7 separate regions of the Homo sapiens genome follow, and regions 1, 2, 3, 4, 5 and 7 are each linked to region 6. Evidence: promoter capture Hi-C in 16 types of primary human blood cells and fetal thymus (Javierre and others, 2016). All regions are on one chromosome and are shown on one strand. Each heading gives the region's core, a stretch centred on a gene start or on the middle of the fragment in contact. The rest is flanking DNA. Distances are from core to core; before and after follow the strand shown. Region 1 overlaps DOCK3 (dedicator of cytokinesis 3). Region 2 holds the start of RAD54L2 (RAD54 like 2). Region 3 overlaps RBM15B (RNA binding motif protein 15B). Region 4 overlaps DCAF1 (DDB1 and CUL4 associated factor 1). Region 5 overlaps DCAF1 (DDB1 and CUL4 associated factor 1). Region 6 holds the start of CISH (cytokine inducible SH2 containing protein). Region 7 overlaps DCAF1 (DDB1 and CUL4 associated factor 1).

The links. Contacts are between HindIII fragments. The CHiCAGO score rates a contact against its expected background, and 5 or more counts as called.
Region 1: a contact is called between a fragment that was not itself captured here and the fragment with the promoter of CISH in region 6, in 2 of 17 cell types (endothelial precursors and naive B cells). The highest score is 6.7, in endothelial precursors.
Region 2: a fragment that was not itself captured here is called in contact with the fragment with the promoter of CISH in region 6 in 2 of 17 cell types (naive B cells and total B cells); the score reaches 7.0 in naive B cells.
Region 3: a fragment that was not itself captured here is called in contact with the fragment with the promoter of CISH in region 6 in 16 of 17 cell types (total CD8 T cells, megakaryocytes, total B cells and 13 more); the score reaches 14.1 in total CD8 T cells.
Region 4: a fragment that was not itself captured here is called in contact with the fragment with the promoter of CISH in region 6 in 12 of 17 cell types (naive CD4 T cells, naive CD8 T cells, total B cells and 9 more); the score reaches 10.6 in naive CD4 T cells.
Region 5: a fragment that was not itself captured here is called in contact with the fragment with the promoter of CISH in region 6 in 1 of 17 cell types (naive CD4 T cells); the score reaches 5.5 in naive CD4 T cells.
Region 7: a contact is called between a fragment that was not itself captured here and the fragment with the promoter of CISH in region 6, in 3 of 17 cell types (total CD8 T cells, naive CD8 T cells and megakaryocytes). The highest score is 6.5, in total CD8 T cells.

The regions. Positions count from the first base shown.
Region 1 is chr3:51,351,013-51,354,365 of GRCh38, forward strand. All of the region lies in intron 40 of DOCK3 (dedicator of cytokinesis 3), which reads left to right. Among named protein-coding and RNA genes, the nearest start is that of MANF, 33 kb to the right of the region's middle. The HindIII fragment of the contact is 3,287 bases long and covers 356-3,353 here.
Region 2 is chr3:51,538,178-51,541,781 of GRCh38, forward strand. RAD54L2 (RAD54 like 2) reads left to right here and starts at 542. Exons shown (of 23, transcript NM_015106.4): 1 at 542-738; 2 at 3,412-3,473. RefSeq lists enhancers at 316-610, 1,429-1,518 and a silencer at 499-898. The HindIII fragment of the contact is 567 bases long and covers 1,982-2,548 here.
Region 3 is chr3:51,392,118-51,395,522 of GRCh38, forward strand. It overlaps RBM15B (RNA binding motif protein 15B), which reads left to right. Exons shown (of 1, transcript NM_013286.5): 1 at 1-3,405. The coding sequence ends at 1,955. Among named protein-coding and RNA genes, the nearest start is that of RBM15B, 2.5 kb to the left of the region's middle. RefSeq lists enhancers at 677-1,182, 1,183-1,690. The HindIII fragment of the contact is 862 bases long and covers 1,606-2,467 here.
Region 4 is chr3:51,427,629-51,431,382 of GRCh38, forward strand. It overlaps DCAF1 (DDB1 and CUL4 associated factor 1), which reads right to left. Exons shown (of 25, transcript NM_001387579.1): 11 at 2,405-2,584; 12 at 1,633-1,842. Among named protein-coding and RNA genes, the nearest start is that of RBM15B, 38 kb to the left of the region's middle. The HindIII fragment of the contact is 709 bases long and covers 1,386-2,094 here.
Region 5 is chr3:51,450,336-51,453,710 of GRCh38, forward strand. The region is part of intron 6 of DCAF1 (DDB1 and CUL4 associated factor 1); the gene reads right to left. Among named protein-coding and RNA genes, the nearest start is that of DCAF1, 48 kb to the right of the region's middle. The HindIII fragment of the contact is 782 bases long and covers 1,451-2,232 here.
Region 6 is chr3:50,610,454-50,613,804 of GRCh38, forward strand. CISH (cytokine inducible SH2 containing protein) reads right to left here and starts at 1,321. Exons shown (of 3, transcript NM_145071.4): 1 at 1,178-1,321. The coding sequence starts at 1,197. It also overlaps a transcript of MAPKAPK3 not described here. RefSeq lists enhancers at 280-840, 1,750-1,839 and a silencer at 1,190-1,669. The HindIII fragment of the contact is 4,554 bases long and covers 1-3,351 here.
Region 7 is chr3:51,410,782-51,414,411 of GRCh38, forward strand. It overlaps DCAF1 (DDB1 and CUL4 associated factor 1), which reads right to left. Exons shown (of 25, transcript NM_001387579.1): 20 at 3,169-3,262; 21 at 2,501-2,605; 22 at 2,212-2,285; 23 at 1,598-1,699. Among named protein-coding and RNA genes, the nearest start is that of RBM15B, 21 kb to the left of the region's middle. The HindIII fragment of the contact is 436 bases long and covers 1,369-1,804 here.

The sequences.
Region 1 (3,353 bases), core at 749-3,248, 740 kb after region 6:
AGGCTGAACTGGAATATAAAAAGAGTGGAAAGGATGACTGAGCATAGATCTACTGACACCAGTTGTGATTTTCTTATTTATTCAGCACAACTCAGAGGCTCTAGGAGTAGTCAACATACACTATAGGCTGAATCCCATAGAGATGTGTTCTCAGATGATCTAAATGAAGCTGCCCTGATGTGTGGGCCCTGGAGCAGTTGAGACCTAATTGCTAATCGCTGATCACCCCCAGTTCCAATATCTTTAACTAAAGTTCACTGTCCACAAGCCTCAGCAAGTAGCTGGGAAAATTCCCTTTGATATGTTTGGGATCCTGTCTTCTTGGAGAAATTGGGTTAGCCAATGAGCAATAACAAGCTTGTTATCACATCAAAGGTCAACCGGGCTTAATAGCTCCTTTAAAAAAAGCTAGTCTGCTAGCGGCAGAGTCCAGGCTAACCACATTGCAGAAGTAAGGCAGGTCAACTTGCACTTTTCTTGGGCAGTAATCATTCTAGGCTAGAAGGAAAAACGATCTGTGTGAGCACTGGCAATATGACAGGGACAGCAAGCTCACTGCCTAATTGTGATCCCCAGGAAGGCTCTAACTCTATTCCACAGGAGTGTTTCTAGTAGCAGAATGGGAATGAGTAGAGAGACTTTTTTTTTTTTTTTTTTTTTTGAGACAGAGTTTCACTCTTGTTGCCCAGGCTGGAGTACAATGGCACGATCTTGGCTCACCGCAACCTCCACCTCCCAGGTTCAAGCGATTCTTCTACCTCAGCCTCCCGAGTGGCTGGGATTACAGGCATGCGCCACCATGCCTGGCTAATTTTGTATTTTTTAGTTGAGACGAGGTTTCTCCATGTTGGTCAGGCTGGTCTCGAACTCCTGACCTTATGTGATCCGCCCGCCTCGGCCTCCCAAAGTGCTGGGATTACAGGCGTGAGCCAATGCGCCCAGCCAGGAATGAGTGGAGAGACTTTCTTAAGAGGACTGGGCCTCCTTCATCTCTAGTGACCATCCAGCCCAGGCATTTTAGAAGTGGCATATTTGCTAGCCCCATCAGCATAGATCATATAAGAATAATGGAAGTGGTGGAAGTCAGCAAAAGAAGTAGAAGCAATTGTACAAGAACTAGAAACCAAAAGCATTTCCAGAAAGTCCTTTGACAAACTAATGATTCTGGTCTTGTAACTTGCCTTTTTCTCATTTTATCTTTTCAAATTATGCTTTCTTGTCATTTTCTTCTTCCTGTATAGATCCACAATTTGTACATCAAAAATGAAATTTCACTATAAAACATCATTATTTTGGATATTACAGAATCAGGCCCTGGTATCCCCTGTTTCTGTTCTGCCAAGCAGGAATGCTCCATCGTAGTCCAACCTGTTTCCCACCCTTTCATGCTCATGTCACAGGACACATTAGTGTCTCAGGGTTGTTGGAGCTTTCTGACAGGTAGGACCTGGCATAAAACCTGCATCTAAGCCATCCACATCATGCTCACAAGTAACAGTCCAAATGTTCAAATGTGGTTTCAAAGACCCTGGGAATGGAGGAAAAATAACAAGAGGTGTTAGGAAATATCACCCATCAATCGATTCCCATCTCCACACAAGATGCAATCTCAACGAGAGGCATAATGCATGTATAATTCATGCATACAAATTTCCTCAGCCAACCCACATGCTACCTTCCCTTATTTCAGCTGCTCAGTTCATCTGTGGCAGAATAATAAGTCCCAGTGGAGGTAGCTCTTTGCCTTGCCCATGGTGGGAATCAGGTACAAAGCAGTGGGGGCCAGATCTGTCTTTTGTGGGGATGCTGGAGCTCTTGCCCAAGTGAATATGAAACCAACAGTCAGCCTCAAGGTCAACACTGTGTGCGTTCTTCCTGCTGGGCCTTCCCCAGAAGGCTAGGCTACTCTCCTACCATCCCTGAATGCACAGGCCATCTATTACTTTAGCTCTATCAGCTTGGTTTCTCTGGGCCATCTGCCTGCCTCGCCTCACAAATGTGATTATCTATTAATCTGCAAAGAGTCAGGAAAACATCCAACCCTCCCTTCTTGAGGGAATTTATATTTCTCATTTGACCCATGAACAGACGTTGATGAGGGTTGTACATATGAATGATATGAAAAGGCTAGTTCTTCACAAGTACTTTCTTTGTCAGTTTTATTTATCAAGCAAAAGATGTAGAAATATCTCTGTCCTTTGACTACTGGTCTGTTCCACTGGAGAGGCCAGCCTGCTCCTCCTGACCTTAACTTTCTTCCTAGCGTTAATCAGAATCAGAATCCCTTCCATTCTGATTCATCCAGACACATGGCCCAGTCTGGGTGCAGTGGCTCATGCCTGTAATCCGAGCACTTGGGAAGGCTGAGGCGGGTGGATCACCTGAGGTCAGGAGCTCGAGACCAGCCTGGCCAACATGGTGAAACCCCATCTTTGCTAAAAATACAAAAATTAGCCAGGCATGGTGCCAGATACCTGTAATCCCAGTTACTTGAGAGGCTGAAGTGGGAGAATCACTTGAACCCGGGAGGCATAGATTGCAGTGAGCCCAGATTGCACCACTGCACTCCAGCCTGGGCAAGAGAGTGAGACTCTTATCTCAAAAAAACAAAAAAACAATACAGACACATGGCCCAGCCTTAGCCAAGTTCTCCCATAGTGAGAGAGGAAGTAAAAATGAGACAGAAATCCTATTTCAAGAAGATCAGGGTCTTACAAGGCCTGCCCTGTGATTAACCCTGTCCCAGGAAGCATATGGCTGGCCCTGTGACGCCTCTCTCTCTCTTTCTTCCTTTGAAGACATGCCAAGAGGGGCTGGCAGTGCCTGATACCATTTTGTTGAAATGGGTCTGGCTAGGCAGTTGGATGGGCAGACTGCATCACCAGTGGGTTTCAGGGGAACTTCCTCCAGCCACCCACTCATGACCAGCTATGACATAGGCAGAGCAAGCAGAGTTGGGGGTGCCTTGTCCACAAAGAGAAAAACTGAGACATAACCAAAAGTAAATGTGACATAACATAAAGTTTTAAGAAGTCTGTACTTAGCATGATGTTTATTTGTTCTGCTGACATGTTTGCAAAGAAATTTGCTGCCAAAGGGTTACTAATGCAATAAACAGTTACTGAATACCTACTGGGCACTGGGCAACATTAGACTGTTTCTCCCAACTAATAAAAGTGATCCTTCAGAATCACACACTTGATCACCACCCCCCCCCCATTTAAAATTATTTGGTGGCACCCATAGCAATCACTCCTTGGTAACATTGGAGTCAGGGTCAGGGTATTCCAAGGCCTGCCCAGTGATTAACCCTGTCCCGGGAAGCATATGGCTGGCCCTGTGATGCCTCTCTC
Region 2 (3,604 bases), core at 1,015-3,514, 930 kb after region 6:
CAGCTTCACTTAACAGGAAACAGGATGGTAGGTGGGGACCGAGGGTGAAAAAAGAAGAGTTACATGATGCGCATAATTTCAAGGGCCCTTGAGGGCTGAGCACAACCTATGTTGGAGGCAACAGTAGCAGCAGCATTGGCAGGATCAGTAACGATCGTACCCCGGTGTAGAGCTCCCTATCTCTGAGCTAGGTATTCGCATCACCTCATTCAATCCTAACAAGCCGCCTAGATTATTCCCAATGAGAAATGAGGAGAAACTGAGGCTCAATTGAGATGCTAAATGGCTGGCGAGTGCAAAACCATTCCGTTGGACCCACCCCTAGAACCATTCTCAGGCAGCTTCTGGCTTGGGATTTCTGTGCGGCATTCATTCCAGAAACGGTCCCATCCAGGCAGGAATCGCCGTACACCCGGCGCAGGGGAACGGCCTTCAGTCGGCTCTCAGCGGAACTTTCCTCTCCGCGGCGCGTGTTCCCGTCCGTGCGGTCGGGCGCGCGGGCCGGGAGGGGGACGCTTTCTGGCGCGGACCGTGAGCGGAGGCTGGCGAGCGCCGCCGCCGGTGGAGACCGACGCTTGGCCAGAGCCAGCCCGCGGCGCCCGGGCCTGGCCGGCTGCTTCCCGCCTCAGCCGCCGCCCCCGCCTCCGCCGCCGCAGACTTTGCCTAGGCGGGCGAAGCTGAACGTGAGGTCCCTCGGCCCTGCGCGGTCCGGCGCGGCCCGGAGCCGCGGCGCAGGAGGTGAGACGCCGGTGCCGGTTCCTCGCTCCCGGCCGGGGCCGCCGGGTCCCGCAACAATGGGGACCGACTGGAGACGCGGCCTGGGCCCCTGCCATGCAGTGGCTCGGGGCAGCTAGATGGACCCAGCGGCCCGGGCCTTCGGGGCACGGGGTCCCCCACCCGGGAAACTCCAGTGGCCGGAGGCTTGGCGGGGGTCTTGGGCCTCGACCCGGGGCCTCAGTGGCTTGATATTTGAGGATTTCGTAGCCGGGGAAGGGAGTCGTAGGGACACGGAGACTTAACTGTTGCCCCTCTGCGCTTTTGGCTCTGGATGCTGGCGCCCCGGAGGATGACCAGAGCGCGGTGTGGGGTTGGGAAAGTATTTGGAATTTTAGGGGCTTCTGTGTGTCTAATCCCTAAGGCGCATCTGGATGCGTCTCCCCGACCCCCTCTCCTGAGGTCTGGGAATTTGGCAGACTGGGGTCGGGCTGGGGCAGAAGAGGCATTGAGAGTTTAGCTTCCCTGAGGTAACTGGTGATTAGTTCCTGGAAAGGCAGGAGCTCAGCTGGGCACAAGAGAGTTAAGCAGAGAGCTGGATCCTCCGGGGCCCTGATGCACCCTGACGAGGAGTGGTTTTCAGGCAAGGAACTTATCACAGGAGTGAGTAGTGGCACACGGTGAGTAGTGCTAGCTGTCTTGTCGTTAGGGTGAGGCCGGTGGGAGTTGTGGTTTGGGGAGTGTAGAGGAGGGTTGATAGGCTACTGAGATTGGAGAATCAGCTTTATGTGGGTCATGGTGGTGGCAGCCTGGGAGATGAACAAGGAAACTTTGCAGAGTGGGCTTCCTGATGGAGAGTGACCTCTTACTGCGTGGGAGTGGGTGACTCAGATCTGTTAGGATTCCTGTTGCTTGCTAGGGATTGTGGCTGACTATATTGGTGGCTGAACATTGAGGTGGATGCAACTGGAAGGGTTATGTGGGGCTGGATGAGTTTGTTCCCACGTAGAGGACAGTGTGGACCTTTCTTACTCCAAGTCAGAGTGGTGACTGTCATTGACAACATTTTAAGTAAGGAATTTCTTTGTGGTATTTGGATCCAAAGCTTTTCTCTGTTCATTTTTTTCTTTCCTCCGTTGTTTTTGAATTGTGACTCATACTTTCTTTTCAGCACTGTGGCTATTTGAAATGATAGACAAACTTAGACTTCATCATACATGTAAGTTCCAGGCGTTTTCAGTCCAATTCTTATAAATCTAAATTTAAAAGCTTCTTTTCACTAATTTGTGTACCATTGTTTAATGTGTGCAACACTAAAGAAGGATAAGAAAACTCTAACATTTATGTTGTTAAATGGTCTTTCCATCCTTAAATCCATGAAATTTCATCTTCTCTTACTGCCATGAAGTGAGTTCGTTGAATCTATTAAATCTTAGTGACTCTCATTTCAGCATCCTTGTTTACTCTCACAGGACATTGTCTTCACTAGAAGTATTATCCATCTTCAATGAATTTGGCCTGTACACTGTCTCCCTGTGACAATCTATATCATTGAAAGACAGTACGCAAACTCCAACTCTGAGGCCTGCAGCTGTGGGCCGGAGCTCTGTATGTATTATTCAGGCAAAAGTTGGTGTGTTGTCTGTAGGTGAGGTTTAAAGGGAACCCTACATGAACAAAAACAGTATCAGAATCATTGTACCTTCTGAGTTTAGAGTGGTAGGAAATATAGCCTAACTGGAGTCTAGTATAAACTTTCAAGTGCAATGTTAGGTAATTCTGTTTGTAGTTGTACTGATAGTTCTCATTATTGTAAACATTATCTTTTTCCTTAAGCTTTAAATAATTATTTTTCTTCAATGGTATTCTTTCTTTCTTGGCTGGGTGTGGTGGCTAACGCCTGTAATCCCAACACTTTGGGAGGTCGAGGCGGGCATATCACATGAGGTCAGGAGATTGAGCCTGCATGGCGAAACCCTGTCTCTACTAAAACTACAAAAATTAGCCGGTGGGGTGGCATGTGCCTGTAGTCCCAGCTACTCTGGAGGCAGAGGGACAAGAATCACTTGAATCTGGGAGGCAGAGGTTACAATGAGCCGAGATCGTGCCACTGCACTCCAGCCTCAGCGACAAAGCGAGACTCTGACTCAAAAAAAAAAAAAAAAAAAAAAAGTAGTATTCTTTCTCTTTCTCCATTCATTCTTTCATAAACGAACATTTATTGCATTTTGCCAGGCACTGCTTTGGGCACCTCAAAAATGCTGATGATATTTTTTAACATTTTGTTAGTGGTAGTTCCTGGTTTAGAGGTGGTTATAGGTCTATGAAGAAAGAAGTGATTCAGGTATATCAAGCTTTTAATCAGTAAAGACATTGAATAAAGTTTTTATAATGTATTAATTTTGACTGGTGACAGTTAATTATCTTAACATCTCCATGGAAAAAGTTTAGCTATCACTGTGAGTTCATGCTGGTATGGGATTATTTTTGCACTATTTTATACACCTGTTAATTTTAAGTACTCCTGTAGACAAACCACAGGTAAAACATTTTGTTTTGGTGTATGTCTCAACGAGCAGTGATTTACAAATACTATATGTGTTCAGATTCCCCAGGAAGCCATCACACTCCTTCCCACTGTGGTTTTGGGAGCATGAAGGCGTTGCTTATCCCCTATGTCTGGTTCACTGTATGTAGGCTGGGAGTGTCTGCTGATCACTTGGAGTGCTGTCCCTTGGAACAGGAGGAGTAAGATTGAGGTAAGGCTCAGTCTGTTTGAAAGTCATTTGCTTCTTAATTTTTACTGCATAAAATATAATGTAAATCTGAATGTTTTTTGCTTTGTTACTCTTCATTCTGATCTATTAAAATGAAATTCTGCCTTTTGCTG
Region 3 (3,405 bases), core at 787-3,286, 780 kb after region 6:
CCCCAGGGCCGCCCGCGCCCGCCGACCCGCTCGGCTACCTCCCGCTACACGGAGGCTACCAGTACAAGCAGCGCTCGCTGTCCCCCGTCGCTGCCCCGCCCCTGCGGGAGCCCCGTGCCCGTCACGCCGCCGCAGCCTTCGCCCTGGATGCCGCTGCTGCCGCCGCCGTGGGACTGTCCCGGGAGCGGGCCCTGGACTACTACGGGCTGTACGACGACCGTGGGCGCCCCTATGGCTACCCAGCTGTGTGTGAGGAGGACCTGATGCCCGAGGATGACCAGCGGGCCACGCGCAACCTCTTCATTGGTAACCTGGACCACAGCGTATCTGAGGTGGAGCTGCGAAGGGCCTTCGAGAAATATGGCATCATCGAGGAGGTGGTCATCAAGAGGCCTGCCCGTGGCCAGGGCGGTGCCTATGCCTTCCTCAAGTTCCAGAACCTGGACATGGCCCATAGGGCTAAGGTGGCCATGTCGGGCCGAGTGATTGGTCGCAACCCCATTAAGATAGGCTATGGCAAGGCCAACCCCACCACTCGTCTCTGGGTGGGTGGCCTGGGACCTAACACGTCACTGGCGGCTCTGGCCCGAGAGTTTGACCGCTTTGGGAGCATTCGGACCATTGATCACGTCAAAGGAGATAGCTTTGCCTATATTCAGTACGAGAGCTTGGACGCAGCCCAGGCCGCCTGTGCTAAAATGAGGGGTTTTCCCTTGGGTGGACCAGACCGCAGGCTCCGCGTGGATTTTGCCAAAGCAGAGGAGACTCGGTACCCCCAGCAGTACCAGCCCTCGCCACTCCCTGTGCATTATGAGCTGCTCACAGATGGATACACCCGGCACCGCAACCTGGACGCCGACCTGGTGCGGGACAGGACGCCCCCACACCTTCTGTACTCAGACCGAGACCGGACTTTTTTGGAAGGGGACTGGACCAGCCCCAGTAAAAGCTCTGACCGCCGAAACAGCCTTGAGGGCTACAGTCGCTCAGTGCGCAGCCGGAGTGGTGAGCGTTGGGGGGCAGATGGAGACCGTGGTTTGCCCAAGCCCTGGGAAGAGAGGCGGAAACGGAGAAGCCTTTCCAGTGACCGTGGGAGGACAACCCATTCACCATATGAGGAACGGAGTAGGACCAAGGGCAGTGGGCAGCAGTCAGAGCGGGGCTCCGACCGCACCCCTGAGCGCAGCCGCAAGGAGAACCACTCCAGTGAAGGGACCAAGGAGTCCAGCAGCAACTCCCTCAGCAACAGCAGACATGGGGCTGAGGAACGGGGCCACCACCACCACCACCACGAGGCTGCAGACTCTTCCCACGGGAAGAAGGCAAGAGACAGCGAGCGCAATCACCGGACCACAGAGGCCGAGCCCAAGCCTCTGGAAGAGCCAAAACACGAGACCAAAAAGCTGAAGAATCTTTCAGAGTACGCTCAGACACTACAGCTGGGTTGGAATGGGCTTCTGGTGTTGAAAAACAGCTGCTTCCCCACGTCTATGCATATCCTAGAGGGGGACCAGGGGGTGATCAGCAGTCTCCTCAAAGACCACACTTCTGGGAGCAAGCTGACCCAGCTGAAGATCGCCCAGCGCCTTCGACTGGACCAGCCCAAGCTTGACGAGGTCACACGACGCATCAAGCAGGGGAGCCCCAACGGCTATGCGGTCCTCTTAGCCACCCAGGCAACCCCCAGTGGGCTTGGCACTGAGGGGATGCCCACAGTAGAGCCCGGTCTGCAGAGGCGGCTTCTCAGGAACCTGGTCTCCTACTTGAAACAGAAGCAGGCCGCAGGGGTGATCAGCTTGCCAGTGGGGGGGTCCAAGGGCAGAGACGGCACAGGCATGCTCTACGCCTTCCCACCCTGCGACTTTTCCCAGCAGTACCTCCAGTCAGCACTAAGGACATTGGGCAAGCTAGAAGAAGAACACATGGTGATAGTCATCGTCAGAGACACTGCCTAGCCCAAGCCTGTCTTTCCCAGCGTCATGTTTGTGTCACAAAAGCAGTTATTTTAAAATCTGATCCCCTCTCTACCCTACCACTTTGGTTTGAATTATCTCCTGGGTTATTTTGGTTCATTTGGGTGGGGATCAAAGTCCTGTCCACCACCAAAACTAAGTTCTTAGATTTTGGGGGATTTTTTTTTTTAAACGATGAGAAGGGAATCCGGTTATGTTGATTTCTAGTGTACAAGATACTGTCTGCTGTGGTTCTGTATTTTTTTATTTTTTGACCAACTGTATGGAAAGTTGTCAGTAAAACCTTTGACAGAGGATGGATTTTTAAACCTGTTCAGAGTCCTGGTTTAATCAATCAAGCTAAAAGAATCGAAGACATCCCTAGTGCATGTACACGAATGCCCTACGTCATCCTTCCAGCACCACTGCTGCATGGGTCACTCTCGGCCTCTCAATTCTTCAGGCTCAGTCTGGACTCTACTTACACTCATTTTTATCTTGGCTGACAGCAGGCAAGCTTCAGTTTGGGCTGTGGACGCTGCCACACAAGCCTGAGTAGAGCCCATGCAAAGGAAGGGATGGGGTGAGCGCAAGGCCTGTGGTCAGCAGCTACTGATGGTTTTTTCTGCCTTAAACCGTGTGTGTGTCCATCATCATCAGTTTGAGCTGTGGCTGTTTGTTTGGGACAGAGTGCCCACTCAGCATGTTTGGCAGCAGGTAGCCTTCAGCAGCTGTGTAGTCTTGTACAAGGAGAAGCTGTGCACTGTTGATGCCAGGGGGTCTCGGGGCCCCTGATCTGTCCAGGCTCCTGGTTCGGCCTACTTTCTAGCCTCACTCAGCCCAGGGATAGCCAGTGTTGGGAGACAGAGTTGCCTCAGGTTCCCAGGGGCCCGGGAGTCCAAATACTGGAATGGAGGGTTGGAGGCAGCCTTCCTTGGATTTACTCATGAACTTTGCCTAGTTGTTTGTGATTTTTGGCTTTCTCTGGTCGTTCAGGGGTGATGGGTAATAGAGCAGGCCCGTGTCCAGTCATACCTAGAGATTTGTGGGGGGATACTGAACCTCTAGACTGAAGTACTTACCGGGGAGCACAGTGGACTAGGGGATGCCCTTGATAATGACGGTTTCCTAGGTGCAAGATCAGAGCATGTGCCTACACCTTGTGCCCTGATGCCGAGGTGGAGACCATTGGGAAATAATTAATAGATATTTTTCTGGGGGGAAATCACAAGTCACTGAGGTGTTTGTTTGTTTGTTAGGCAGTGCTAGAGCTTGAAGCCACTCAAGCCAGTTGGGGAGGAAAGGGATGCGGAGGTACCCTCTAGCTGGGAAGAAGGGTGAGATTCCGTCTTCTTCCCTGTCTCAAGTAAGTAAGGAAGGTACTGCGGACAGTGTGGGCCAGGGAGGAAAACCAGAGCACACAGTTTTGTCACCATGGAACACCCCAAATGCC
Region 4 (3,754 bases), core at 490-2,989, 820 kb after region 6:
TTTTATTTTATTTACTTATTTCAAGACAGGGTCTCACTTTGCTGCCCAGGCTGGAGGGCAGTGGCTTGATCACGGCTCACTGTAGCCTCAATCTCCCAGGCTCAAGCTGCCCTCCTGTCTCAGCATCCCAAGTAGCTAGAACCACAGGCACATGCCACCACACCCAGCTAATTATTTTATTTTTTGTAGAGACAGGGTCTCATTTTGTTGCCCATGCTGGAGTGCAGTGGCATGATCATAGCTCACTGCAGCCCTGAACTCCTAGACTCAAGCGATCCTCCCACCTCAGCCTCCTCAAGTGCTGGAATTACAGGCATGAGCCACCATGCTTGGCCAAGGTTTTAATTATAAATTAAATAATAATACCTTTCAAATTCCACAATTCTTGAGTCAAAAGCCCATATGTGAAGTAATGACCATAGATTGCTTAATCTTTTATCTTATTTATAACTAGACTCACAATATGATTTGTCCAAAAAGATAACAAAAGTTTCCTTTGTGCATATAAGTTACAGCTTAAGAGAAAGAAGCATCATGTGACTGATTTCAATTTGTGACTTTTTTTTTTCTTGAGACTGGTTCTCACTCTGTTGCCCAGACTGGAGTGCCATAGCCCGATCACGTGCGGCCTCAAACCCCCAGACTCGAGTGACTCTCCCATCTCAGCCTCCCAAGTAGCTGACACAGGTGTACCACCATGCCCTTTTTTTTTTTTTTTTTTTTGAGACAGTCTCTGCCCAGACTGGAGTGCAGTGATATGATCGTAGCTCACTGCAGTCTTGAACTCCTGGGTTCAAATGATCCTCCCACCTCTGCCTCCCAAGTAGCTAGAACTACAGATGCACACCACAGGGCCCAGCCAATTTTTAAAATTTTTGTAAAGACAGGGTCTCACTATTGTTGCCCAGGCTGGTCTCAAGAAATCTGCTGGTGATTTTTTAAAAAACATGCAGCTACTCGTCATTATCCCAAAACATATCAAATTCCACAATGATAGTGAAGTGGAGTTATAAACACATTTTCAGAAAAGAAATTCTGCACAGAAGGCAAATCATCTAGTACTTTTCATACAAAAAAGCTCTTTGCCAGGTACAGTGGCTCACACCTGTAATTCTAGCACTTTGGGAGGTCGAGGTGGGAGGACTGCTTGAGTCCAGGAGTTCCAAGACCAGCCAGGACAACATAGTGAGACCCCCATCTCCACAAAAAAATTTAAAAATTAGCTGGGTGTGGTGGTGTGTGCCTATAGTCCCCCAACTACTCAGGAGGTTGAGGTGGGAGGATCACCTGAACCTGGGAGGTTAATGTTGCAATGAGGTGTGGTCACATCACTGCACTCCAGCCTGGGTGACAGAGGGAGACGTATCTCAAAAAGAAAAAAAGAAAGCTTTTTTATACACACTTCAGTTAATCTTTTAGTTCTAGAATCCCAGCAACTTACAACTGGAAGCAAAATAATTCCCTGAAATTCACCTATTACATCCATTTTTCAATTGTTCTGCCTTCATACAGGGAAGTATACTCCAACAATGGACATAGCACAGAGTCCACTGATCTGAATGTGAGTTTCAGGACTGAGATGCTACAGAGAGGGCTAACAGAACTTTCCCTTTCAAGGCAAGGTCCTCTCACCTTGTACGGGGGTTGTGGGTGGACAAGAATGCCACCCTCAGTCCTCTGAAGTGACTGCTTCACTTGTTCCAATTTAATGGCCAGGTGAGCCTCAAAGTATTTGCGCAAGGCCATGCAGGTATGTTTCCCAGTTTGGCGGCTAGCAAATATTTCATCATCACTCAGAAGTGCACCCTGATCTTCCAAATTTAGAATCTCCAAAGTACTGATCTATTAAGATGCAAAATATTGGGGCAAAAGAGGGGAAAAGGCAAGAAGAGTTAAGTAAAAATATTTAAAAAAGGGAAAATATTTTAGTAAACTTTTTTTACTTTCCATACATATTCTGCTTATGTATCAGTAAACTTTTATGCTTAACAAGACTGACAAATATCAACGCATATTTATGTATATCTATGTATATAGCATGCTAACAGTAGCTATATGAAAGCAAAACATTAAACTCATACCAAAAAATGAACAAGCTTTTAATCATATTAAAAAATGTACAGGAATAAAACTATTGCTTTTACAAAGATCAAGATCATCAACTGCCAATCCCCGTTATAAGATTACTATATCCAAGGCAAGTCTACAACGGCACAGTGTCCTCTAACTACTAAAGAAAAAGAGAAATTTGTGAAGAAAGGGAAAAAAAAAAAACTTCACAAAAAGAATGGCAGCAAAACTCCTCTAATCAGAAGCTTCCTTTCTTCAAGGGTGTGCCGTTAAAGGGCAGCCAAGACAACCAGGACCCTCAATCCTAGGGAGAAAAGCACTGAAAGAACCTCACCAAGTTCACCAGACGACGAAGACCATCATAGCGGTCAAAGAGCTCCAAGACGGCCCGAAATGAGAAGCAAATTGAAAAAAACATGGTAGCATGGCAGCATCCTGAAGCATGAGAACACTCCATTAACCACAGGGTATAGTTCACCACATCAGACAGAACATTGTGGGGATGCATGCAAACCTGCAAAAAAATACAAATAAAACAATGCTTTTAAATTGTGGGCAAAGGAGCCCTTGAACAGGATGGAAAATTTGCCAGTATAGATATCTGCAGAATACAATGACCATCTCCAATCAAGTCACTCTTAGTACAAAGTTTAGGTAATAATACAAAGGCAATTTTAGAACACGATCCATTCCAAACCTGAAAACGACCTAAATTTAGATAAATATTTAAATACAACCTATACTTACTGAGTGCCAACAAATATTTACATCATTTAATGCTCACGAGGGCTCCATTATACAGGTATTAGGATTCTCACTTAAAAGAAGAGGAAGAGGTAAGGAACTTCTCCAAATGTGATAAAAGTGGCTCAGATTTCTGATCCTAAGTCTAGGAGTTTGGTATTCATTCTCTGGTTAATTCACACACATTTTGATGTCTACTATGGGTCAGAAAATGAAACTGTAAAGCATCCCCAGGTTTCCTTGATATTTTTTTCTCTATCTTAGCCATAAGTAATTTTGTATGTACACACATAGATTAGTTTATTACTCCCAAAAGACTACCTATCTTGCATAAACACCAAAATAAAAACAAATTAAAACTGATATTATTAATAAGCAAAGATAAATAATGTCATAGCTCGAGAAGAAATTACCCATTTCACTCTACCAGAAAAGACACCAAATAAGAATATTAGAAAAATGTCCCAGAAATAGAAGTAACAAGAGCTTTGCTTTCCTAGGGGATCACAGGAGCCCATCGCTTTTCAAATGTATAACCCACAGCCTGGGCAAAATGGCAAAACCCTGCCTCTACAAAACACGCAAAAATTAGCCAGGTGTGGTGGTGTGCCCTTGTTGTCCCAGCTACTTGCGAGGATGGTTTGAACCCAGGAGGCCGAGGCTGCAGTGAGCCAAGATCATGCCACTGGACTCCAGCATAGGCGACAGAGCCAGACCCTGCCTCAAAACAAAAACAAAAACAAAAAACCACATACGTATGTGTAACCCATTTACACTTTTTAAAAAATCACAAGGCCAGGCACGGTGGCTTATGACTGTAATCCCAGTACTTTGGGAGGCTGAGGCGGGTGGATCACTTGAGGTCAGGAGTTCAGGACCAGCCTAGCCAACATGGTAAAACCCCGTCTCTACTGAAAAAAAAAAAAAATTAGCCAGGCAT
Region 5 (3,375 bases), core at 592-3,091, 840 kb after region 6:
ATCACTCATGACTATAGTTATAAAAATCCTCAACAAAATACTAGGAAAATGAATTCAGCAGCATAAGAGGATTATACATCATGACTAAATAAACTAAATCTCAGGAATTCAAAGACAGTTCAACATACCACATAACCACTGCAACTGATACCAAAAAAATGTTGACAAGTCAATACCCTGTAATGAAAAAACAATAAACTAGATTCTAGAAGGAAACATCAGCATAATAAAGGCCATTTATGAAAACTCATAGCTAATATCATACTCAACAGTGAAAGACTGAAAGGCTTTCCCTTAAGATCAAGAAAAAGATATCCACTTATTTTTTGAGAGACAAGGTCTCACTATGTTTTCCAGGATGGTCTTGAACTCCTCAGCACAAGCGATCTTCCCACCTCGGCCTCCCAAAGTACTGAGGTTACAGGCGTGAGCCACCACGCCTGGTCAAGGTGTCCACTTTTGCCACTTCTATTAAACATAGTACTGGAAGTTCTAGTGAGAGTAATTAGACATAAAAAAGGAAATTAAAGGAATCCAGATTAGAGAGTAAGAAGTAAGATTACCTCTGTTGGCAAATGACGTGATCTTATATGTGTAAAACCCTAAAGACTCCATACACAAAAAAACCTGTCAGTGAAGTAACACATTCAGCAAAGTTATAGGATACAAAATCAACATACAAAAATCAGTTGCACTTCTATACACTAGCAATGAACAATATAAAAAGGAAATTCTTTTTTTTTTTTTTTTTTTTTTTTTTTTTTTTTTTTAGTGACAAGGTCTCACTCTGTCACCCAGGCCGGAATGCAGTGACATAATCATAACTCACTGCAACCTCGAACTCCTGCGCTGAAGCAATCCTCCTGCCTCAACCTCCCAACTAGCCAGGACTACAGCCATGTGACACCACACTCAGCATATATATATATATTTACAGATGGGGTCTCACCATGTTGCCCAGCCTGCAGCCAAATAATTTTAAATAAAAATAAATTTTAGGCCAGACACAGTGGCTCATGCCTGTAATGCCAGCACCTTGGGAAACCAAGCCAGGGAGGATCATTTGAGCTCAGGAGTTCAAGACCAGCCTGGGCAACATAATGAGACTCTGTGTCTATTTTTTCGTATATATTTAAAAAATAAAAATAAATAGATTTTAGGTCAGGTGTAATCCCAGCACTATGGGAGGCCAAGACGGGTGGATCACCTGAGGTTAACAGTTTGAGACCAGCCTGGCTAACATGGTGAAACCCCATCTCTACCAAAAATACAAAAAATTAGCTGGGCATGGTGGCAGGTGCATGTAATCTCAGCTACACGGGAGGCCGAGGCAGGAGACTCCCTTGAACCTGGGAGGCAGAGGTTGCAGTGAGCTGAGATCATGCCGTTGCACTCCAGCCTGGGCAACAAGAGCAAAACTCTGTCTCAAAAAAAAAAAAAAAGATTGTAAAGCTTTTTTTCAATATCTCTGAAAGTAAAAGTCAACAACTTTTTAAAAACAGTGGCGGAATAAAACCAACTTAGTACACTGAACCAGCATTTTAAAAAAGAAATAAGTAAAAAAGTATCAGAATGAATTGCACAAAGAGTAAACAGTGTTTTTAAAACTTCTTTTTCATACATATAATGTATGGACTGGGTTTCAAGGTTTAAAAAAAAGTACATGTTACTATGTTTCACAAAATTTGAAAAACACCATCCTAGAGCAATAAGTCTTTTTCTTTTCTTTTTTGAGACAGGGTCTCGCTCTGTCTCCCAGGCTGGAAAGCAGTGGCACAATCACAGTTCACTGCAGCGTCCACCTCCTGGGCCCAAGCAATCTTCCCACCTCAGACTCCCAAGCAGCTGAGACCACAGTGTGCACCACTACACCCACAAAGAGACTCCATCTCTTTGTAAATGAGGTCTCCTTAGGTTATCCAGGCTGAATAAGTCTTAATTATAACTTCTGAGGAACACCAATAGCTAATTTGTTGAGAAATAATGATTTCTGACTCATTAATTGCTATAATTAAAATATTTTAAGAAATATTGATTTATTAAAAAAAGCTGCATAGGATACTTCTGAAGAGTACAGATCATCATGTAATCAAGTAACACAATATGAAAAAGGCTTGCAATCTGTTCTCTAAACACTGGATTCAAGACAATTTCCAATCTAATGCACAATGGAATAAGTCACTTCTCCCAATAAACCATTAATTAGGAAACGATAAAATTGTTCTTGCAGAAAGCTTTATTATTCATAATTTCCCTTAAATAGTGTTTCTAACCACCAAAGGGCACTCACTTCTTTCTAGATCTACAATGATGAAACTATAAAGAACCAGAGATGATTTTCCTACAAGGACAACATGGAAATTTTCAAAAAGCCCCGTTAAATCATCTGTTATCGGCTGGGTGCAGTGGCTCATGCCTGTAATCCCAGCACTTTGGGAGGCTGAGGTGGGCGAATCATCTGAGGTCAGGAATTCAAGACCAGCCTGGCCAACGTGGTGAAACCTCATCTCTAATAAAAATATTTTAAAAATTAGCCGGGCGTGGTGGCGGGCACCTGTAATCCCAGCTACTCAGGAAGTTGAGGCAGGAGAAATCACTTGAACCCAGGAGGTGGAGGTTGCAGTGAGCCGAGATCACACTATTGCACTCCAGCCTGGGCAACAGAGTGAGGCTCTGTCTCAAAAAAAAAAAAAAAATCTGTAATCTTGGATAAACCTTGTGTATACAAATATATTGCCATAAATGCTTTTATCATCCTGATTTTCAAAATAATCCATATTAAAAATTTTTTACAAAGACAGATTCTTCTAGTCTCACACGGGTTGCTAACTGGAGATTTTAGTCTATAAATGATATTGCAAATTATAACGTTAATCACAACGTTATTCTCTAAAATACTTTCTGTGGCACAATTATTCTGCAATAAAAGTTAATATGAATTTTCTTAAAAGCTAAATAAGAATCAAGATCTTTCATTTGGGTCATACACTTAACTATAATAAGACTTCCAGGCTGGGTGCAGTAGCTCATTCCTATAATCCCAGCACTTTGGGAGGCTGAGGCGGGAGGACTGCTTGAGCCCAAGAGTGTGAGACCAGCCTGGGCAACATAGGGAGACCTCATCTCTACAAAAAAATTTTTAAAAAATTAGCTGGGCATGGTGGCACTTGCCTATGGTCCTAGCTACTTGGGAGGCTGAGGCAGGAGAATGGTTTGAGACAAGGAGGTCAAGGCTGCAGTGAGCTTTTCTTTTAACCTGTCTCGAAAGAAAAAAAAAAGATTTCCAGAGTGTTTAAGAAGATTAAAATTTTAATAGCTTTAAAAATAAAGCAACTGGCCGGGCACAGTGGCTCACGCCTGTAATCCCAGCACTTT
Region 6 (3,351 bases), core at 71-2,570:
GCTTTGGAGCGCAGCAGTCTAAAACTTTGTTCCCTGACACCCAACAGTAGCCCTGAGCTTACAAGGGGGTGCTCACCTAGGGTAAAAAGTGAAAGAGGCTATGGGACCCCGGAATGCAGGGGGAGGCTCCTGGGGTGGAAGGCAGTGGTGGGGCAGGTATTCAGGAGTCCCAGAATGCAGACAGGAGGAAGGAACTTGCTGGAGACAGCAAGGGAGAAGTAGTCTTCCCAGCACCTCCATGTCCTCTTCCTTGGCCTCACCTTCCACCCTCCCTCACTTGGCACCAGGCCAGTTGCGATAAGCACAGCCACCCAGTCCTCCCTGAGTGCAGAACACCCATTTATACCTTCTTCCTCTCTCCTTGGAGCTTCCTGAGCTCCTGTCACATCACCATGGCCAGCATCAGACCCTTTGGTTGAAGGGGTTGCTGAGGTTCAGGACAGAGTGGATGGCCAGGAATGCTCAGCTCAGGTCAAGACTCTGTCTTATCAGCATCCCCTCTCCACTGTCCCTTACCTCAAGTCTGGGAAATTTGAAGATGAGAGGCAGGAGCCAAGGTCCTTCTCACATTGGGATCCCAGACTGGGCTGAGACAGGGTTGTGAGACGATTGTGGGGGTACCCCAAGCAGGACCAGGCCAAACCCAGGGCCTCCCGAGAGTTGCAGACCATCAGGTGCCAGCCTGAGGAAAGGCAAGGATCTGCGGCTGGCTTCCCAAGAAGAGCCTACTTGCTAGCCTGGGGCAGGAGAGGGGACACCAGGACAGAGGGGGCCAGGGGCTGGTCCAAGGTTACTAGCAGGCAGGGCAGCAGGCAGGCTAGCGTAGAGTGCTCTGGGCCCAGAAGAATATCTGGGATTGTTGGCCACATCTTGGGGGACGCCGTGCCGTTAGCATCCATCTGCTCCAATGAGAACCCAGGCTGAGCCCACCCTGTGAGTTCCTCCTTTAGCCGGCCAGCCCCCGGTTTCCCAATCCACAGTGGGAATTGAGGTAAGTGTGTGGGGGCGGGGAGTGGGAGTGTCACAGCCCCACACAGAGCCTTGCTCCTGAGGTCCGTCTGCGCTCAGTCACCTCTGGCCCGTCAAGCCCTCCCAATGCCCGGCAGCTAGCACGAAGCCCCTGTTCTCCCGTGCGCCCCTCGTGGTGGCCGGGAAGGGGGCAGAGAGCCGCGCTTACCCCTGAACGCAGAGGACCATGTCCCCGCGGCAGCGGCGACTCCGGAGTGGGGACTCGGCTGGACGGCGGCGGCTGGAGGGAACCAGTGGGCGCGGAGCGCGTGCTGGGTAGGCTCCCGGGGCGCGCGGGCGCAGGACAGGGACTGAGAGGCAGTGGCGCGGACCGCCTGCGAGGGCGAGGGGGGCGGGCCAGACGAGCGGGGCGGGGCGAGCTGCTGCCTAATCCTTTGTCTGCCGCGTTCCAGCCCTTCCCGGAAGCAGCGTCTTCCTAGAACCGCGGGCTGAGCGGTGGGGCCCGGGCGGGGTGCGCGGGCCCCGTCGCCGGGTCTGGGGCCCTGAGCAGTGAAAGGAAATACTTTGACAGATTTCCAAGAACTTTCCAGGAAAACGGGGCGGGGCCCCGCGAGCTGACCAATCGCGACGCTGAAGGTGGAGCCGAGCGGTCGGGGAGGGCCAATAGCAGCGCGTGGACCCGGGGCTGAAGCTACCCAGAGGGGCAGGTCGGAGAGATCAGTGGGGAAAGACCGGGTCGGGGAAGTTAAGGAGGGGCCCGGGCTCAGCAACCCGCGCCCAGATTGCCTTCTGGCATTCTGCGTCGTTGGGGAAGGGCCCTCTTATCTCGCGGTGGAACTCGTGGCAGGGCGGGGGGCGGAGTCCCGGGCTTGTCCTCCCTGCGAGCGGCTCCTCCAAGGAGGTCTGTCGGCGTGTGCAAGCGCCCCGTGTTGGGACGGCCGCTCCTGGACCCTAGGACTCTGTGTGTCGGGTGTCGGATTGGGTGGCATGGGGTGAGATCTGGAGCGGGACTTAGGGCAGGGCGGGGTGCAGAGGACAGTTCCAGAAATGAGTGGGTCCACTGAGGTCAAGCCGGCGGTCACCACAGCCAGAAAGATCCAGACAAGAACGTTTTCTTTGAAAGAGTTGAAGGAGAAAGCACGCCCCAACTTTTCGAATCAGGCAGACCATCCAGTCTTGGCTGGCACTGGTTTCTGGCCGGCCCTGCCAGTCAGGGGAGAAGAGACTACAGATTTGAGAAAGCAAGCAGAGACAGCCCCAGATGGCCCGGACTCTGGGTTGGTACCACCCCCACCCCCCGCCAGAAAAAAAATGCTGAGAGAGAGTCCTGCAACTCAAAACATAGGGAGATAATCTGGGAGTAGGGTGATAGAGGTTGGGGCGGGATGGCGGGGGCAGAGTAGTAACACTCGCTCTTATCTACAGGGAGTACTTGCTGCATTTGATCCTCTACAACTGGTGTTGCTCCCGTTATGCGGACAGAAGACAGCCCCAGGGAACAAATGCTAGGAAATGGCAGGGTAAGAGCTTGGTCCCAGCTCTGAATCAGAAGCCCACGCTCCTACCAGGACCCTCTCCACCTTTTTTCAGTTCACTGGATTCACTATGGAGCATCTTGAAGGACTGTAGGGTCTGTGAATCTCCTCCAAACCCTTGGGCCAGAAGAACTGTGGGATTTGGAGAGGTTGCAGGGTCCACTCCCCACCCCCATCCCCCTCCCAGTGTGTGCCCCCAGGGTCCCCAGAAAGGAGTCTAGCTCTGAGATCCTGGGCAGGGATGACAGACCCCTGGCCTTGTTGAAGGGCCTGAACGATAGCATCCAGGGAAGACAGGGCTCAGTTTGCTCTGCCCAGAATGGCAGAGGGCAAAAGAAACCTGAAAGCAAAACCCTGTGAAACTGGGGAAAAAACGTTAAGTTTCAGATTTCAGGGCAGTCACTTCTCTGTAGCTTTCCTGAAGGGAAGCCGGGCTTCATGAGTGCAACTCTGCCAGCCCCCTCCTGAGTTGGCCAGAAGCCACTTTCTTGGAATGGGGGTAGGGGGGATGGATACCTTATAACCCACTTTGAGGGCTGGGATACCTGGATAGCCTGATATGCGGCCCCTGTGTGGACCACTGACTTGCCAGTAGGAACTGTCCACTGTCTCATTACTATGAAGACAAAAGGACTTTGCCGCTGCCAGGCAACAGAGTTACAATTTTGAACTTGGGTCTCTTATGGGGCCAAATCCCAAGCTCTCTACCAAAACTATACTTCTTCCCCCTCACCATGACTATTCAACTGAACACTTACTATGTGTCAAGCACTCTCAGCAATTTGCAGCCTCATGTCATTGTCACAACTACCACATATTATCTCCTCTTTACAGGTGAGAAAACTGA
Region 7 (3,630 bases), core at 337-2,836, 800 kb after region 6:
AATGCAAACTGAGGGAAGTGTACTTTCCCCGGTCCTGTGATGCCACTGCTTCTCATCCAGAGCACCTCTGTGCCCTTAAAGAGGAGACAAAGCTGGCTGGGCGTGGTGGCTCATGCCTGTAATCCCAGCACTTTGGGAGGCTGAGGCGGGTGGATCACCTGAGGTCAGGAGTTCCAGACCAGCCTGGCCAACATTGTGAAACCCCATCTCTACTAAAAAAAATACAAAAATTAGCTGGGCATAGTGACATGTGCCTGTAATCCCAGCTACTCAGGAGGCTGAGGCAGGAGAATTGCTTGAACCCCAGAGGTGGAGGTTGCAGTGAGCCGAGATCGTGCCATTACACTCCAGCCTGGGTGACAAGAGCAGAACTCCATCTCAGAAAAAAAAAAAAAAAAAAGAGAGACAAAGCACCAAGACTAAAGAATACGATAGTAGGGGGAAACAGAAATGAACCCAAGAACTGGGGAAGAAAACATTTTTAGCTGCTTTAATATCTGAAGAGCAAAGTCAAATCCTAGTCATTCATTTTCAACTTTACAGTACTCACTCAGCAATAAATATTTCTCAGAAAATTAGACAAAAGAATCTGCCCTGGAGAATGTACTCTTGGAAAGAGAATGTGCTGTGAGCCCTGTAGGCTGGAAAAAATCTGCTGAAACTCAGAAGTTTGAGAAACTCTTCAGAACCCATACTGACACACCACACAGGCAAGCACCTAGCGTAATACAACCACAAATTAAAATTCCCTATGAAAGCAAAATGCAAAGACTGAGGGACATGATACTATCTACCCACATTTTATATATGTTTAATTTCTCAAAAGTATCAAAATCTTATCTTACCTATAAGTTCAACTCTTACCCTAATAATAGACTATGCCATAAAACTGAGAAAATATAAACCAGAACTTTATAAAGGTTAAGCCATTTCTACAGTCCATCTCAGCAAAGTGATTGTTCTGTTTTTTATTGACATTGGGAGATGCTTATCTGAAGCCAGAACGGGGCACAAAGAAATCTCTGAATGAAAATCAGAGATTGCCAGGATGAGTGCGGTGGCTCATGCTTATACTCCACGCACTCTGAGAGGCCGACGTGGGCAGATCATCTGAGGTCAGGAGGTTCGAGACCAGCCTGGCCAACACGGTGAAACCCCGTCTCTACTAAAAATACACAAAAAATAGCCAGGCGTGGTGGTGGGCACCTGTAATCCCAGCTACTTGGGAGGCTGAGGCAGGAGAATCACTTGAACCCAGGAGGCAGAGACTGCAGTGAGCCGAGATCATGACATTTCCAGCCTCGGCGACAAGAGCAAAACTCCATTCTAAAAAAAAAAAAAAAAAAAAAAAAAAAGCAGAGATTGCTAAGCTTTAAATTGCTCTGCAAATGGAATTCACGGGATCATCAGGTACTGGTTAAAATCTTATAATAAAATTTCTTCTGAGTTTCAGTGATCAAGGGTACATGACAAGCCTTATGAATGTGGCAACAGGTAGCAAAGGTTGAGTAGACCTTTAAAACCTCCTACAGCAAAAAGCAGAGCATAACCTCTATTAAGCACTGTTCAGCAGAAAGAAATCTCAAAGACCACTGACCTGGTCCTCCTCTTCATCCTCATCCTCTGCCAGACGCTGCCTGCCCACTTCATACAGCCTGCATACTGTGTCCATGTTCAGGGCATCCATGCTGCCTTGATTCTGAAATAGAACATCCAGTCCATAAGGAGCAGTTACTTTTCAGAAGGTCCACATCCACGCCTCAGCCCTGACTGGTGCCCATGACCTTGACCCTGTAATTATTAAAGCTTCTGATACCCGAAATTCTTGAGCTGACTATGAAAATGTTATACCTAGGACACATAAAGGGGAAGAAAAACAGAATGAAAAGACTTGGTGAGGAACCATCACCCTTGGAACAAACCAGTCTTGCTCTGGTGAGAGATCCAGATTCCTCTGAGAAAGGGATGACAGTGTGAGTCCAGAAAAAAAGGAGACAGGATCCTCTAAGCTGTCTTATATTGGGATTTTCTTACTATTTCTCTTTGTACTGTACATCTCCCAAGCCCCATCAAATGAATAGGTTATCAATAATCTACCTTCAGGAATGTATTGACTTTACATCTTATATCAGACAAAATGTCTGTAGTACAACTTGAAAATTATCCTAAACATCAGAACAAAAGAGCAGGGCCTCTGCAAGCTCCCTTTACCTCAATGACAGCAAGATAGCAGTCTTTGGTGTCTGTACACAGGTCAAAGATGTTCCGTTTCACATCAATGGTTGCTGGAAAATAGAATGTGAGAAGATTGGGATTGGACTATTGCTGTGACCCTAAAACCTGCTTTTCCTCTAAAGGAATTCAGGATGATTGCTCAAAAGTATTTCCATAACTTCTCTGTTTTTCAATAAAAAATTACAGGCCTCCAGAAAATGAAGGATCTTAAATAAGGAACACCAAAACACGACAAAATGTTCAATGTCTGTCCCTTTCTGCTTACCTATAGGTTTGTAGTCAGTTGCATTAAATGTTCGGAAGGATGACCCAAAGGGGCTTTTCATCCTCTCTTCCATTAAGTCATCTTCATCATCTGCCTGCAACATAGCTTGAGGGGGAGTGGGGGAGGAAACACTATTAGGAATCACAAACATCCCCTCTTCACAAGTGCAGAAAATGTTAATGGCCAATCAAAACAATCTACTTGCATATAGGTTTACATACAAATTCCCTTGTACAGAAATCTACTCTGCATCTAGTTAGCTCCTCTCAGAGCATCTTCCTTGCATATCCCACCTATTGTGACAAATAATATCCTCAGCCTCTCATCTACCTCCAAGAAGTGTTACTGTACTTACAAGGCTTATAACAACACAAGAGGACAAATGCAAAAGCTCTTAAGTTCATAATGATACACTGGAAAATACTGCATGAAATTTCTTTCCATACAAGATTTCCTTGTTATCTTCAAAGTAAGCTGCCTTTCACCCTAAACCAACATTATTTTCATATCTTTTGTCACCATTCATACTATCAATTTTTTATCTTTTATGTTACAACTCTCAAATGCTTTCCAATTCACAAGTGAGAGATGGTTCCAAAAAGAAGTATCAAATTAAGTGAAGGGGTAGAGCAAAAGGAAAGAGAATAATGAAGGATAAGGTTTATTACCTCCATACATCACTGTTCCCGTGTGATTGAACACCACGCGACACTGATCCAGAGCGGGAACAGTATGCAAAAGATGAAAAGTTCGAAGGTCCCACTAGGAGGGGAATGGTCAAGGAAAACTATTTTACACAAAACTTATCTAATCTCATGGGAGGAAATTCTAAAATATCACTTTTTTTCCTCCTGCCAGGTATTGATACTTTAAAAGTCAATGAGATCAAGGTAAAACAAATACATGTAGAATGCATATTATTGAATGATGTCTCTGAAAATATCCTAGGGTATCCTCATATACAGGAATGCTTTATGAGCTCTTTTCCTCCCAACAGTAGTACTTCATTTTCCTCTTATGTGGCAACTGATTTTTTACAGAGCAAAAGTAAAATCCTTCTGAAGACAGATAAAAGCTAATTCAATTCTTGGAGAACTGGGAGGTAGGAAACTGGTCACTCTTACCAAATA